4 separate regions of the Homo sapiens genome follow, and all the other regions are linked to region 1. The links are contacts of gene promoters, found by promoter capture Hi-C in blood cells and fetal thymus (Javierre and others, 2016). All regions are on one chromosome and are shown on one strand. Each heading gives the region's core, a stretch centred on a gene start or on the middle of the fragment in contact. The rest is flanking DNA. Distances are from core to core; before and after follow the strand shown.

Region 1 (3,751 bases), core at 330-2,829:
TTAATCACAACATAAATGCTGGTTTTTACTTTTTTCTGTCTTATATTTAAATCTTTCTCGCTTCAAAGGGTACACATGAAGTGCTGAAGAATCATATACAAACTGCTTTTATTCTTATTTTTCTCCTTATTTCCTCACTTCTTTCAGGTGAGAATAACAAAAGTTACTGGATTCTGGTCAAATAAGAACCATGATCTCTATTCAGAATGTGCCATATTCTCTGTGTTCTTCACCATAGCCTTCTGAGCACCACATTCTCCACTCTTTCATGATCTAGAGCAAGGTTTCTCAATCTTCTTTTTAATCATGTTCTCTTTTGATAAACATAAAAACTGTACCATACACAACCCTTTGAAATTCTTATATCCCCCCAGCCCCTCAGGGCAATTTTACTCTCTACCCCCTTCAGAATTATGGTTTGATTTATTTTCTGCATCTTGGATTACAGAAATTGGGGTTTTTTTTCAAATATGATATTATAATTTTATAATAACTTTTTAAACCAATCCACACCCAAAGTCTTGAAAACTTGAGGACTGTGCAGTGTCTGTGGGTTTAAATAACAAGATTCTTAATTAATGTTTACCACTGTCTTTATAATTTTATTTCTTTGCTATTTTTATTTAGAAAACAGTCCATATGCTTCATTGTAAGTTTGTATCTGAATCTAGTGCAACCTGATGAATTATAATCTGGTTTCAGTTAGTGTAGACCCTGGTATAAATATATAAAACCTAATCTGTAACTTCACCAGTTCAAAAATCAGTCAGACAGTGAAATGAGCCAGTTTATTTAAGAAAAAATTATCTGCTCACAGTAGGTTTTGATTTTACATAAGGATTGGAGCTTCCTTTTATGATGCTGTTAAAGAAAAGCAGTAGCTCCTACCTTGTGCAGATAATGCATAGTATACTAAAAACTGCAAAGGTAATGGTGCTTCTGTATGAATATTAAATGCTTCCAAACAAAAGGGACATAGACTTCTGCAGAGGCTAGCTTTATCAGACAGAAGTTGAGTCTCTGTAGGACTCTCAGTGTAGCAGTCAACAACTAGGTCACCATCTTTACCTTCCCAAACTTGTATCTACTATGTACATCTCCTTCAAAAATAAACTTGGATCATAAAACTACTAGATAACTATTTTCCAGAATTTGGAAAGTACTATTAAGAAATCAAATAAAAATTACATGTTACAGATGCAAAACTGGTCTCCAGAAAATGTCTCTAAGTCTATATTCCCCTCAGGAGAATGTCTATCTCAAGTCACTCATGCATACATTTTGTCTCTGCTAATTTGACAAATGAAAAAAGTTCTACAACTCTTAACTTCAGTTACTAATGACTGTCTACATAGTTAATATGCTGACTGCCTTTCTTAATGATCAGCTTTCAAAATTTAAACCATTAGGTCCTGTTTATTTTTATAGAGTTTAATTTTTAAGCTAAAAATGAATAATAATCACTCTTACCTGTATGAGTAGTTTATGCCAACTAAGGTTATATTGTTCAGGGCAGTGATGCCAAATTTCAGACTTAAAATTCTCTGATCTTCACTCTTCCAATATCTTTAGTCAGTGTGAATAGATTCTTGCATGACACCAACTACAGTGGGAGGAAAAGGGGAAATTAAACAGAATATTGAAGAAATTCAATAGTTATGGTCAATGTGGCAACTGCCTCCTCAAAAAACCCTCATTTCTCTATTTCTGTAGTGGGAGGAAGTGGTGAACAATATACATATTATACTTCCTTATGATTATTTCATGAACTAGTTACACTCCAGTAACCTTTGTTTGCACGATTGACTGAAGTTAAGTTCACAGGTTTAATCCCCCATGGCCAGTTTTATATGACACAGTGATAGAAGGAGCCACTCTGTAGTAACCCAATACAAATATTGGTGCAAACTCGTTTGTAAAATTGTTTGTGGATGGCTTATTTGCAATCCATCTTTATCAAAAATAGAAACAAAACTCAAAGTTTTCTTATAACTTACTAGAATCAAATATTATAGAGCTAAAATAGAACTTCATGATCATCTGTGGACTGAGACCCTTTGTTTTAAAGTTGAAGAAGCTGAGGCCCAGAGGAACTCACTGTAAGCACAGACTGCACCCAGGGTTGGGTCCCAGTTTGGTTACTAATGAGTTAACCCACTCTGTTTCTAATTGCCCTGCACTATCTCCATTTGTCAACATAATACACTGTTTGGGGCATTTCATAATGGATTTGGCAAATCCTGGGAAGTGCCAAGTATGCCTCAGATCAAATGAATAGTTATAAAGAATTGTGAAACCATGACTAGTCTAAAACAATAAAAATTTTAAAAATAAAAAATAGAATTGTGAAACCAATTTTTTTGTTCAGGATTGTCGAATCAGTCTGTGACCTACTAACTAAATGAAAGCTAAGTGTGTACATCTGGGGAGGAAGACTTGCATCAAGCACTCCCTCTCATCCTTGAGTAGTTAAACCAGTGGGAGTCTGAAAAAGAGAACAGAAATCTAATTTCATCAAACCTGAGCATTTTAGTTATCAGTAAATCTTCACTTAAAATTTACAGAAGTACCTTGCCATTTCTCATAAACCCGCAATGCTTACCTTATTTCATGTTTATTTCATAAATTCTCTATGATGTTTGCTAATATTTCTCTCCAAAACAAAAGTGAGAACTGCCTAAAGTGTCCAGATTGTGTTCTGCTGCTGTTCATCTTTGCCTTGCCACCATTTACTTAAGAACAGTGACTCATCCAGGGTTACATGGCCGTTCATTACAGAGTAGTTTGGCTTTTAGAATTCCCATCACTTTTACTTCAGTAATGTATCATGTTCCAGGAAGGAATTACATAGAACAAAAAACAGTTTTAATTAATTTAGAGAAGAACAGAAATGGAATGCTATTTCTAAGTGATTGAAAGATAGTTGTAATATTATCTGTTCAGGCATAAGCGTCTTTGGTCCGAAAAAAGAACGCTCTTGTTTTCCTCCATTGTCTCCAAACTCAGTAAATGATACCATCACTCCTTCAGTTATTCAAGCCAAAAACTTACGAATCATCCTTAATTCCTCTTTCTTTCACATCTCACATCTAATCAATTGCTGGTACTACAGCTTCTACTATCACTACCATCATTCATTAGCCACATTTCATGAGAGCTTACTATGTGCCAGATATCTCGCTATGTGCCTTACATCCAAGTCTTATTTGGTTTTCACAACACCCTGTGAAATGTCTCATTTTAAAGGTGAGGAAAACTGAAACTCAGAAAGATCTCATAAGTTGCCCAAGGTCACACAGCCATCTGTCCTCACAGGATGGTGATTGGCTCACCTCAAAGCAACTAATTCAAGAACAAGTCCATAGCTGCAATGCCTTTTTGTGATCTAGCCTCTGAAGTCAACAGTGTCACTTCTGCAGTATTCTATTGGTCACACAGAGCCAGCCCTGCATCAGTGTGGGACGGGTAAATATCAGGAGGTGATGATCACTGGGAGCCATCTTGGAAACTGGCTATCACAGATGTCAATCAACCGTTGAAACAAAGGAAGAGTCAGAAGTACTGCTTAAAAACCGTTGTCAGTCCACTGGTTGTTTATTGGACAAGCATACCTGGATAGGTGTAAGTTTTGCCAGTTCTTACACTATTTTGGTTTTTAGGTCTATTTTTGTTAAACAGTGTAATTCATTCAACAAATACTTATTGGAGTTTCTACTATGTTCCTAGCAGCATGTGGAGGTCACAGAAGTAG
Region 2 (3,751 bases), core at 707-3,206, 460 kb after region 1:
CACGAGGGATCCACCCCCATGACCCAAACACCTCCCACCAGGCCCCACCTCCAATACTGGGGGCCACATTTCCACGTGAAATTTGGAGGGATTAAGTATCCAAACCATAGTACCTTAGAAACTAAAATATACTCTAATATTCTCCTGCCTTGAGCCAAATAAACCTCTTTTCTTTATAAATTACCTGTCTTGGAGCTGGCTATAAAGAAATTCTCTGGCCAGGTGAGGTGGCTCACCCCTGTAATCCCAGCACTTTGGGAGGCCGAGGTGGGTGGATCACAAGGTCAGGAGATTGAGACCATCCTGGCCAACATGGTGAAACCCCGTCCCTACTAAAATACAAAAAATTAGCTGGGCGTGGTGGTGCACACCTGTAGTCCCAGCTACTCAGGAGGCTGAGGCAGGGGAATTGCTTGAACTCAGGAGGCGGAGATTGCAGTGAGCCGAGATCGCACCACGGCTCTCCAGCCTGGTGACAGAGCAAGATTCTGTCTCAAAAAAGAAAAAAAAAAGAAATTATCTGGCCTATCTTGTGTGATTGTAGGTGTAAAAGTTGATCATACTTCAGCTGGGTGTGGTAGCTCATGCTTGTAATCCCAGCACTTTGAGAGGCTGAGGGATCACTCAAGGCCAGGAATTTGAGACCAGCCTGGGCAACAAGGTGAAACCCCACCTCTATAAAAAATACAAAAAAATAGCTGGGCATGGTGGCATGTGCCTGTAGTCCTAGATACTTGGGAGGCCAAGAATTGCTTGAGCTCAGGAGGTGGAGGCTGCAGTGAGCCATGATTGCACCACTGTCTTCCAGCCTGGGTAATAGAGCAAGACACACAGAAAGGGAAGGGAGGGGAGGGGAGGGGAGGGAAGGGAAGGGAAAAGGAAGGGGAAGGGAGCGGAGGGGAAGGGAAGGGAAGGGAAGGGAAAAGGAAGGGAAAGGAAAGGGAAAGGGAAAGGAAAGGAGAAAGGAAAGGAGAAAGGAAAGGAAAGGAGAAAGGAAAGGAAAGGAGAAAGGAAAGGAGTAAGGAAAGGAAAGGAGAAAGGAAAGGAAGGAAAAAGAGAGAAAGAAAAGAAAGGAAGGAAGAAAGAAAGAGAGAAAGAAAGAAAAGAAAAGAAAAGAAAGGAGAGAAGAAAAGATCATACGAATTGGGTCATTCTTGACATACCCAACTGAAACAGAGTCAGGAGGTCAGGGGGAAGCAGGCAGGGCACATAACATTGCTCCAAAAATGTAATTCTCTGCAAGCCTGGCTGCTGAAACTGCCTGCTATGACCTGAAACCAGTTTTTTGTTTTGTTTTTTGTTTCGTTTTGTTTTGAGATGGAGTTTCACTTTGTCGCCCAGGCTGGAGTGCAGTGGCCTGATCTCGGCTCACTGCAATCCCCACCTCCTGGGTTCAAGCTATTCTCCTGCCTCAGACTCCCGAGTAGCTGGGATTACAGGTGCCTGCCACCACGGCTGGCTAATTTTTGTACTTTTAGTAGTGACAGGGTTTCACCATGTTGGCCAGGATGGTCTCGAACCCCTGACCTTAAGTGATTCGCCCACCTCAGCCTCCCAAAGTGCTGAGATTACAGGTGTAAGCCACCATGCCTGGCCTTGAAACCAGTTTTATCTCATGGCTTCTGAAGCAAACTGCTGCAACTCTAAGACTAGTTCTACCCACTGCCAACACTCTCCAATCAGAGCTTGCTTGCCAGCTCTCTGAAACCTTACTAGTGCCAATGAGCTTCCTCAAAGAGCAATATGAAACATTTCCCCTTTCTATAAAACCTCTAACCTTCTCTTTGTTCTTCAGACATACCGAAGACCGGACAGTCTGCATATATGCTCTGAATTGCAATTCTTTCTTCCCAAATAAAACGTTTTAATTTCAGATTTATCTGTATATTTTATTTGACTTCAGCATAGGTTATAAGACCTCCATTTCAGAAGAGATCCCGCCCCATATCCGGGAGGAGGGAATGCCACACAGAGAGGCCAAGAAGAATCTGAACAGACAGGCCTTGCTAGGCTTAGATCATATCCTTTTTGTCCAATCACATTTCTTTTTTTTTTTTTTTTTTTTTGAGACGGAGTCTCGCTCTGTCGCCCAGGCTGGAGTGCAATGGAGTGATCTCAGCTCACGGCAAACTCCGCCTCCTGGGTTCAAGTGATTCTCCTGCCTCAGCCTCCCGAGTAGCTAGGATTACAGGCACACGCCACTAAGCCCGACTAATTTTGTATTTTTAGTAGAGACAGGGTTTCACCATGTTGACCAGGCTGGTCTTGAATCCCTGACCTCGGGTGATCCACCCGCTTCAGCCTCCCAAAGTGCTAGGATTACAGGCGTGAGCCACCATGCCCGGCCCAATCACATTTCTAAATGGATGTCCATGCTTCATGCCTATCCAATGAAGTCTCCATAAAAGGCCAAGAAGATGGGGCATGGGGAGGTTCCAGAGGGATGAAAACATGGCGCCTTGTAGGAAGGTGAACAAGAACTCATCCGCAGCTGAGCACAGTGGCTCATGCTTATAATCCCAGCACTTTGGGAGGCTAAGGTGGGAGGATTGCTTGAGCCAAGGAGTTCGAGACCAGCCTGGGCAACATAGGGAGACCTTGTCTCTACAAAAAATACAAAAATTCGTCGGTAATGGTGGTGTTAGCTTGTAGTCCCAGCTACTTGGGAGGCTGAGGTGGGAGGATTTGCTTGAGTCCAGGAGGTTGAAGCTGCAGTGAACCATGATCGTGTGCTAGATACAGTTCAGTGGCATTAAAAATGTACTTAACGCCACTGAACTGTATACATAAAAATGGTTACAATGGCAAATTTTATGTATATTTTATCACAAGAAAATCTTTTTAAGGCCGGGCATGGTGGCTCACACCTGTAATCCCAGCACTTTGGGAGGCCGAGGTGGTTAGATCATGAGGTCAAGAGATCGAGACCATCCTGGCCAACATGGTAAAACCCCATCTCTACTAAAAATACAAAAATTAGCTGGGCATGGTGGCATGCGCCTGTAGTCCCAGCTACTCAGGAGGCTGAGGCAGGAGAATTGCTTGAAGCCAGGAGGCGGAGGTTGCAGTGAGCCAAGATTGTGCCACTGCACTCCAGCCTGGTGACAGAAAGACTTCGTCTCAAAAAAAAAAAATCTTTTTAAAGAAAAAATACAATATTTACAATGCATTATTTACAATAATTACCCTTCCTGTGCCCCCACTCCTTCTCAATGCAGGGTAGCTCTTTGAATCAAGAGGTGCAGGCCTTGAGCCTGGGCTGGCCTTGGGACTTGCTTTGACCGGTTGAATACTTCACATTGTGCCTGCTCCAGGCCTCAATGGCAAGAGACCTTGAGCATTTCTGCGATTTCTGTTCACTCTCCTGGAACCCCGCCGCCTCCCTATGAACAAACGTGGGCTAGCCTGCTGGGGATGCAGGACCAGGCAGACGAACGACGATCCGACCAGCTGAGGTCACTCCAGACCAGCCCATCCGCAGCCAGTCTGGCAGATGCAGGTGGGAGCCATGTGTATCAGCTGAGCTCAGCCCAGATTGCCAGCCGGCAGCAGCAAAAGCTAAATCAACAGTTGGTGTTTTGGCTTCATGCCTATAATCCCAGCACTTTGAGAGGCGGAGGCAGAAGGATCGCTTGAGCCCAGGAGTTCAAGACCAGCCTGGGTAACACAGTAAGACCCCATCTCTACAAAAAATCAAAAAATTAGCTGGCCATGTCTGTGGTCCTAGCTACTTGGAAGACCGAGGTGGGGG
Region 3 (2,500 bases), core at 1-2,500, 390 kb after region 1:
AAGGCAAAACCCCGTCTCTACTAAATATACAAAAATTAGCCGGGCATGGTGGCACATGCCTGTGATCCCAGCTACTTGGGAGGCTGAGGCAGGAGAATCACTTGAACCCAGGAGGCGGAGGTTGCAGTGAGCCCGCGCTACTGCACTCCAGCCTCCGCAGCAGAGCAAGGCTCCGTCTCAAAAAAAAAAAAAAAAAAAAAAAGCCAAAGTGATCTTCTGGTAGAAATAATACAGATTTTATATCCATGCATTGCCAGGACAGTGAAGGTAATACAGACTACATATGGAGATGGAGGAACAGCAGCAAACCATGTGCTCCCCTGTGGACTCTCCACTCTTCCTATCTGCCTTCTTTATACAGTATCTTCCCTCCTAATCTTTGGTTTTCCTGACTTTCCCTTTTCCTCCAAATTTTGGATGGTCTATTTTACAGAATATAAAGCACCCGAACAGCTGTCTCATAATATGAAACATATACTAGCTGTCATCTATCACTACGTTACAATTACAATGGGAAAAGACACCAGATATTGTAATACATTTTGGACAAAACCTTTCAAAAGCAGCAAGGCAAGGAGATGAAACCAGAGAATCACTTCCAACGCTGTAACTTGTTAACTGTTCTACAATAAGCCCATCTTCATTTCTAGCAACTTTGCCAAGACAGAAATAACCAGGTTGTTATCATTATACAGCTTGGTTTACACAGTAGGGCACCCACCTCTTCCAAACTAAAACCATGCTGTGAATGATTACAAACAGATTCAGCACAACACTAGTGAAACTGTACAAAACCATGCCCTTGGCGTCAGAACAGTTTGACATAGGAATGCCGAATTTCCCACTGCGTAACATTAGATGAGTTCTTCCAAAATTATTAAGCTCTAGTATTTGAACCAAGGCTGACAGAAGCATAGAAAAACAACACCATGTTTAGACCTCCCCCAAATGCCTGGTTTTCCTTAGGCTTTACTAACTTCTAAAGGAGGCAAAAAATAGACCTACGAAGTTACTTGTGAGGACCTACCTTTAGTAGCTTCTCGGTTCCTTAAATGAGGAGGAATATAGCGCCCTTCTAAAAAAATATATATATATATAAAATTAATTAAATGCCAAAAAACCTTCCCATTTAAATTTCTGTTACTAAAAAATGGTTCTGGGAAATTAAAATCTCCAGCCTTCCAATCTGATTACTTACCTGGACACTGAGAGGGGGGAAAAATAAGAATCTAATTTTAAATGGGTTACTGCTTCATAAGGAGAACTCTGAAAGGAGTTTGATAAAAAAAAGCTGATTTGGAACCTAATAGTTGAAATCCACAAATTGAGCACATTTAGCCACCAGTGGTCATTTAATGTGATTTTTTTAAAGGCCTGCTAGATTTAAGAGAACTGTCATCAAAACTGTCAACAAAAGCATTAAGTATTACTGTAACAATTTAAGATTACTCATGTAACATATCTCACAATCTTTTGTTTCTATGCCAGTAAGTTGCAAAACATACAATAAATAAACAAGGAAAAGCTGCAAAGGGGAGTTAATTTCAAGGAATTGCAGGTTTTAATTTGGGGCTTGCTGAGTTTAAGGAAAGTTGACAGTTGCTCTGTATGCGAGCAGGAGTACAGCCTAGAATATGGATAAGCAAAAAAAACAACATAAAGCCAAATAAATTTGCTTTATAACTAGTAAACGTGTCATTTTTCTTTTTCACTTCTAGACTGAATTAAATATTTTTAAAAATCTCTACTAGGACAATCAGTTCCTAAAAGATTCTTAGCATGACAAATAAGGTGAAAGTTAAAGCAAACACCAAGTTTTGTTCCCAGTGAAGCTGTTCTTGCCTAAAAATGAGGACACATCATAGCCCATACTCACTTTTGTTTTAATAAGTAGGAAGAGATCTGAGCTAAAAATAAGGGTCTATTGCCCTTATAATAAACCACCAAGATCCCCTATCTTAACACTAACCTCTAACAAGTCTCTAAATAACCCCCCTTAGAAGAAAAAAAGCAACTTTTCTAATGCCTTTTTAAAAGAAATGACACATTTGAAAACCTAACCTAACCACCAATCCAAAATTCAGTATAGTCTTCTGTTCTTCAGGAGAAAGGAGTAGCTATAACCAATGAAATGCATATTCCCTTAATTCAATTTAATAAATATAGTCAGTTAACAGGGACACATTCCCATCACCTCTAAACTGGGCTCAGGATTTATAATGGACAAAAACTCTTCTAGAGATAATTTGATATAATAAGGTTCTTTCCAATGATTAGCTGCTTTTACTCAAGAGAGCCAGCTAGTCATTGATGTTTTATTATCAGAAAGGCACAGCTATTCGGGAGGCTGAGGCAGGAGAATCGCTTGAACCCGGAGGCAGAGACTGCGGTGAGCCGAGATCACACCATTGCACTCCAACCTGGGCAACAAGAGCAAAGCTCCATCTCAACCAAAAAAAAAAAAAAAAGGCAACGATGCTTTAGATTGATCACTAAGTAC
Region 4 (3,751 bases), core at 935-3,434, 260 kb after region 1:
GCAAGGATTCCTCCATTTATTTTAAAAATTGTTTGCTGGCCAGGCATGGTGCTCATGCCTGCAATCCCAGCACTTTGGGAGGCCAAGGCGTGCAGATCACTGGAGTCAGAAGTTCAAGACCAGCCTGGCCAACATGGTGAAACCCCATCTCTACTAAAAATACAAAAATTAGCCAGGTGTGGTGGCGCGTGCCTGTAGTCCCAGCTACTCTGGAGGCTGAGGCATAAGAATCACTTGAACCAGGGAGGCAGAGGTTGCAGTGAGCTGAGATCACACTACTGCACTCCAGCCCAGGCAACAGAGCGAGACTCTGTCTCAAAAAAAAAAAAAAAAAAATTATTTGTCAAGGAACTCCTGGGATTACAACAGTCAGGATACAACCAATTTGTATAATGCAAGAGATCAGAAAGGTAGCTGCCTATGTTTAAAAAACATATATGAGAAGAGTGAGACTGAAGCTTCTCAATGTACACTGCTTTTAGCCTTTAACATTTTGAACCATGTGGCTATGTTACCTATTTCAAAAAATAGATTAGAGTTTAAACTTTAATTAAACACTCAAGAAATTGTCACTATTAGAGACTTATTTTTAGCCTCTGAAACTTTGATAGCCATTAGGAGCAATAACTAATTTACTGGATTATTTAGTGACATTTAAATTAAGTCAAGGCCGGGTACAGTGGCTCACACCTGTAATCCCAGCACTTTGTGAGGCTATGGCAGGAGGATCGCTTGAGCCCAGGAGTTTCAGACCAGCCTGGGCAATATAGTGAGACCCCTATCTCTATAAAAAATAAAAAAATTAGCCATGCACAGTGGTGTGCACCTGTAGTCCCAGCTACTCAGGAGGCTGAGGCAGGAAGATTACTTGAGCCCAGGAGTTCAAGATTACAGTGAGCTATGATTGGACCACTGAACTCCAGCCTGGACAACAGAGCAAGACCTTGTCCTCCCAAAAAATAATAAATTAAGTCTCCAGGCGCGGTGGCTCATGACTGTAATTCCAGCACTTTGGGAGGCAGAGGCAGACAGATCACCTGAGGTCAGGAGTTCGAGACCAGCCTGGCCAACATGGTGAAACCCCGTCTCTACTAAAAATACAAAAATTAGCCAGACGCAGTGGCACACGCCTGTAATCCCAGCTACTCAGGAGGCTGACGCACAAGAATCGCTTGAACCCGGGAGGCAGAGGTTGCAGTGAGCCAAGATCATGCCACTGTACTCCAGCCTGAGTGACACAGTGAGACTCCATCTAAAATAATAAATAATAAATAATAATAATAATAAATTAAGTCAAGTAAATTCTCAGAACTGACAGCAAAACTGTATTGGTTTGTTCAGTATAAAGACTAAGTACATGTTTAGTGAGCCAGAAAAGCAAGGCACCAAAAAAAAATTCTTTTAATAATAATATATGTGGATGAGTTCTACTGCAATCATGGCAGAGTAGCTTCTATCAGACTAACATTCCCACTGCTATCTATGGTAGACTCTGGACAAAATTTTTTTAAAAAAATTGTTTTAGCTGGGCGTGGTGGCTCACACCTGTAATCCCAGCACTTTGGGAGGCCGAGGTGGGTGGATCACCGGAGGTCAGGAGTTCGAGACCAGTCTGGCCAACATGGCGAAACCCTGCCTCTACTAAAACTACAAACAAACAAAAATTAGCCTGGCATGGTGGCAGGCACCTGTAATCCCAGCTACTTAGGAGGCTGAAGCAAGCAAATCTCTTGAACTCGTGAGGCGGAGGTTGCAGTGAGCCAAGATCACACCATTGCACTCCAGCCTGGGCAACAAGAGCGAAAATTCATCTCAAAAAAAAAAAAAAAAAAAAAAAAAGACCAGTCTGGCCAACATGGCGAAACCCTGTCTCTACTAAAACTACAAAAAAAAAAAAAAATTAGCCAGGCATGGTGGCGGGCACCTGTAATCCCAGCTACTCGAGAGGCTGAGGCAGGAAAATTGCTTGAACCTGGGAGGCAGAGGTTGCAGTGAGCCAGGTTCACGCCATTACACTCCAGCCTGGGCTACAAGAGCGAAACTCTGTCTCAAAAAAAAAAAAAAATTGTTTTAAAGCACCAGGGAACAACCAAAACAGGCAATCAGAGTCGATGCAACCCTTCAAAGAAGAGACACAAACTAGGTGAGATGTGCATCTAACTGATTTTTCCTCTCAGGATTTTTTTTTTATTTTTTATTTTTTTAGACAGGGTCTCTTCTCTCCGTTGCCCAGGCTGGAGTGCGGTGGTGCAATCTCGGTTCACCACAGTCTTGACCTCCCTGGGCTTGGGTAATCCTCCCACCTCAGCCTCCCAAGTAGCTGGGACTACAAGTATGTACCACCATGCCCAGCTAATTTTATGTAGACAAGGTATCACTATGTTGCCGAGGCTGGTCTTGAACTCCTGACCTCAAGAGATCCTCCTGCCTCGGCCTCCCAAAGTGCTGGGATCACAGGCGTGAGCCTCTGGGCCCGGCTCTCTCAGGGCAATTTCAAGTCCACACAGCACATGGTGAGTGAAGCTAAAGCAGAAAGCAAGCTGACAGCTTAGAGGTCAGCATTTATAGCTGCCACAGTGGCTGGAAATTGAGGAGGGAAAACATGGAAAAAGGGAGCCTCAAAAGAGGAGCCACAAAGTTAGTATACAGGTTCCCCTTATGTCCTTGGCTGAGTTCTGAAGGGCATATGTGTGGGATGACTCCAGGGAGCCCAAGGGGAAAGCAAGAACTAAACACCAAAAGACCTAAACAGAGATTTTAGCAATTGCCCAGTGACAGGAGGCAGTTTAAGAGTTCAAGGTCCCAGCTGGGCGTGGTGGTTCACGCCTGTAATCCCAGCACTTTGGGAAGGCGAGGCAGGCAGATCACTTGAGGTCAGGAGTTCGAGACCAGCCAACATGGTAAAACCTCATCTTTACTAAAAATACAAAAAAAAAAAAAAAATAGCTGGGTGTGGTGACAGGCACCTGTAGTCCCAGCTACTCGGGGGGCAGGTAGCTGGGACTACAGGTGGAGGTTGCAGTGAGCTGAGATCATGCCACTGCACTCCAGCCTGGGCAACAGAGCAAGGCTCTATCTTAAAAAAAAAAAAAAAAGAGTTCAAGGTCTGCCAAGTTAGAGGAGCTTGTCAAATACCTTGAGCTTTCCACTGAAACCCCAAAGGACCATGCCTCAGGAGTGAAGACCATTTCCCAGGACTAAAGGCAAAACTCAAGTAGTCCTACCCTTAAAAAGCCTAAAACCAAGGCTTTCAGGGAACAAGGTGATCTGCCAGTAATTTAACTGAATGCCAGAACAAAATTCTACACTCTTCAACAGAAGACAAGAGAATCCAGAGTTTCTACCACTGGCTCCGCAGTATCCAGTGTACAACCAAATACTAGTAGACATGTGAAGAAGCAGCAAACATGACACTTGTCAAGAAGGAAAAAAAAAACAGCAGAAGCAGATTCAGACAGCCCACATGTTGGAATTACCAAGCAAAGATTTGCTATAAATATGTTAAGGAATTTACAGGAAAAGATAGGGATCATGGGCAAAGACATGGGGAATCTGAATTTTAGAAGAGGTATGGAAACTCTAAAAAGGAACCCAGTAGAAATCTTAGTACTGAAACAATAGCTGAAATTTTAAAAATTATTGAATAAGATAAATAGCAGATTAGACACTGCAGAAGAAAATCTTCATAAACTTGAAGAGAGGCGAGTAGTTATTAACCAAAGTGAAGCACAGAGAGAAAATAAAAAGAAGA

Evidence for each region. Contacts are between HindIII fragments. The CHiCAGO score rates a contact against its expected background, and 5 or more counts as called.
Region 2: a fragment that was not itself captured here is called in contact with the fragment with the promoter of GPR82 in region 1 in 1 of 17 cell types (neutrophils); the score reaches 6.8 in neutrophils.
Region 3: a fragment that was not itself captured here is called in contact with the fragment with the promoter of GPR82 in region 1 in 1 of 17 cell types (neutrophils); the score reaches 5.7 in neutrophils.
Region 4: a fragment that was not itself captured here is called in contact with the fragment with the promoter of GPR82 in region 1 in 1 of 17 cell types (neutrophils); the score reaches 7.7 in neutrophils.

The regions. Positions count from the first base shown.
Region 1 is chrX:41,722,009-41,725,759 of GRCh38, reverse strand. GPR82 (G protein-coupled receptor 82) reads right to left here and starts at 1,579. Exons shown (of 3, transcript NM_080817.5): 1 at 1,471-1,579. All of the region lies in intron 5 of CASK (calcium/calmodulin dependent serine protein kinase), which reads left to right. The HindIII fragment of the contact is 20,979 bases long and covers 1-3,751 here.
Region 2 is chrX:41,259,424-41,263,174 of GRCh38, reverse strand. No RefSeq gene overlaps it. Among named protein-coding and RNA genes, the nearest start is that of LINC02601, 14 kb to the left of the region's middle. The HindIII fragment of the contact is 4,129 bases long and covers 1-3,751 here.
Region 3 is chrX:41,337,611-41,340,110 of GRCh38, reverse strand. It overlaps DDX3X (DEAD-box helicase 3 X-linked), which reads right to left. Exons shown (of 17, transcript NM_001356.5): 3 at 1,028-1,075. Among named protein-coding and RNA genes, the nearest start is that of DDX3X, 4.7 kb to the right of the region's middle. The HindIII fragment of the contact is 3,587 bases long and covers 1-2,500 here.
Region 4 is chrX:41,464,876-41,468,626 of GRCh38, reverse strand. All of the region lies in intron 2 of NYX (nyctalopin), which reads right to left. Among named protein-coding and RNA genes, the nearest start is that of NYX, 19 kb to the right of the region's middle. The HindIII fragment of the contact is 3,447 bases long and covers 461-3,751 here.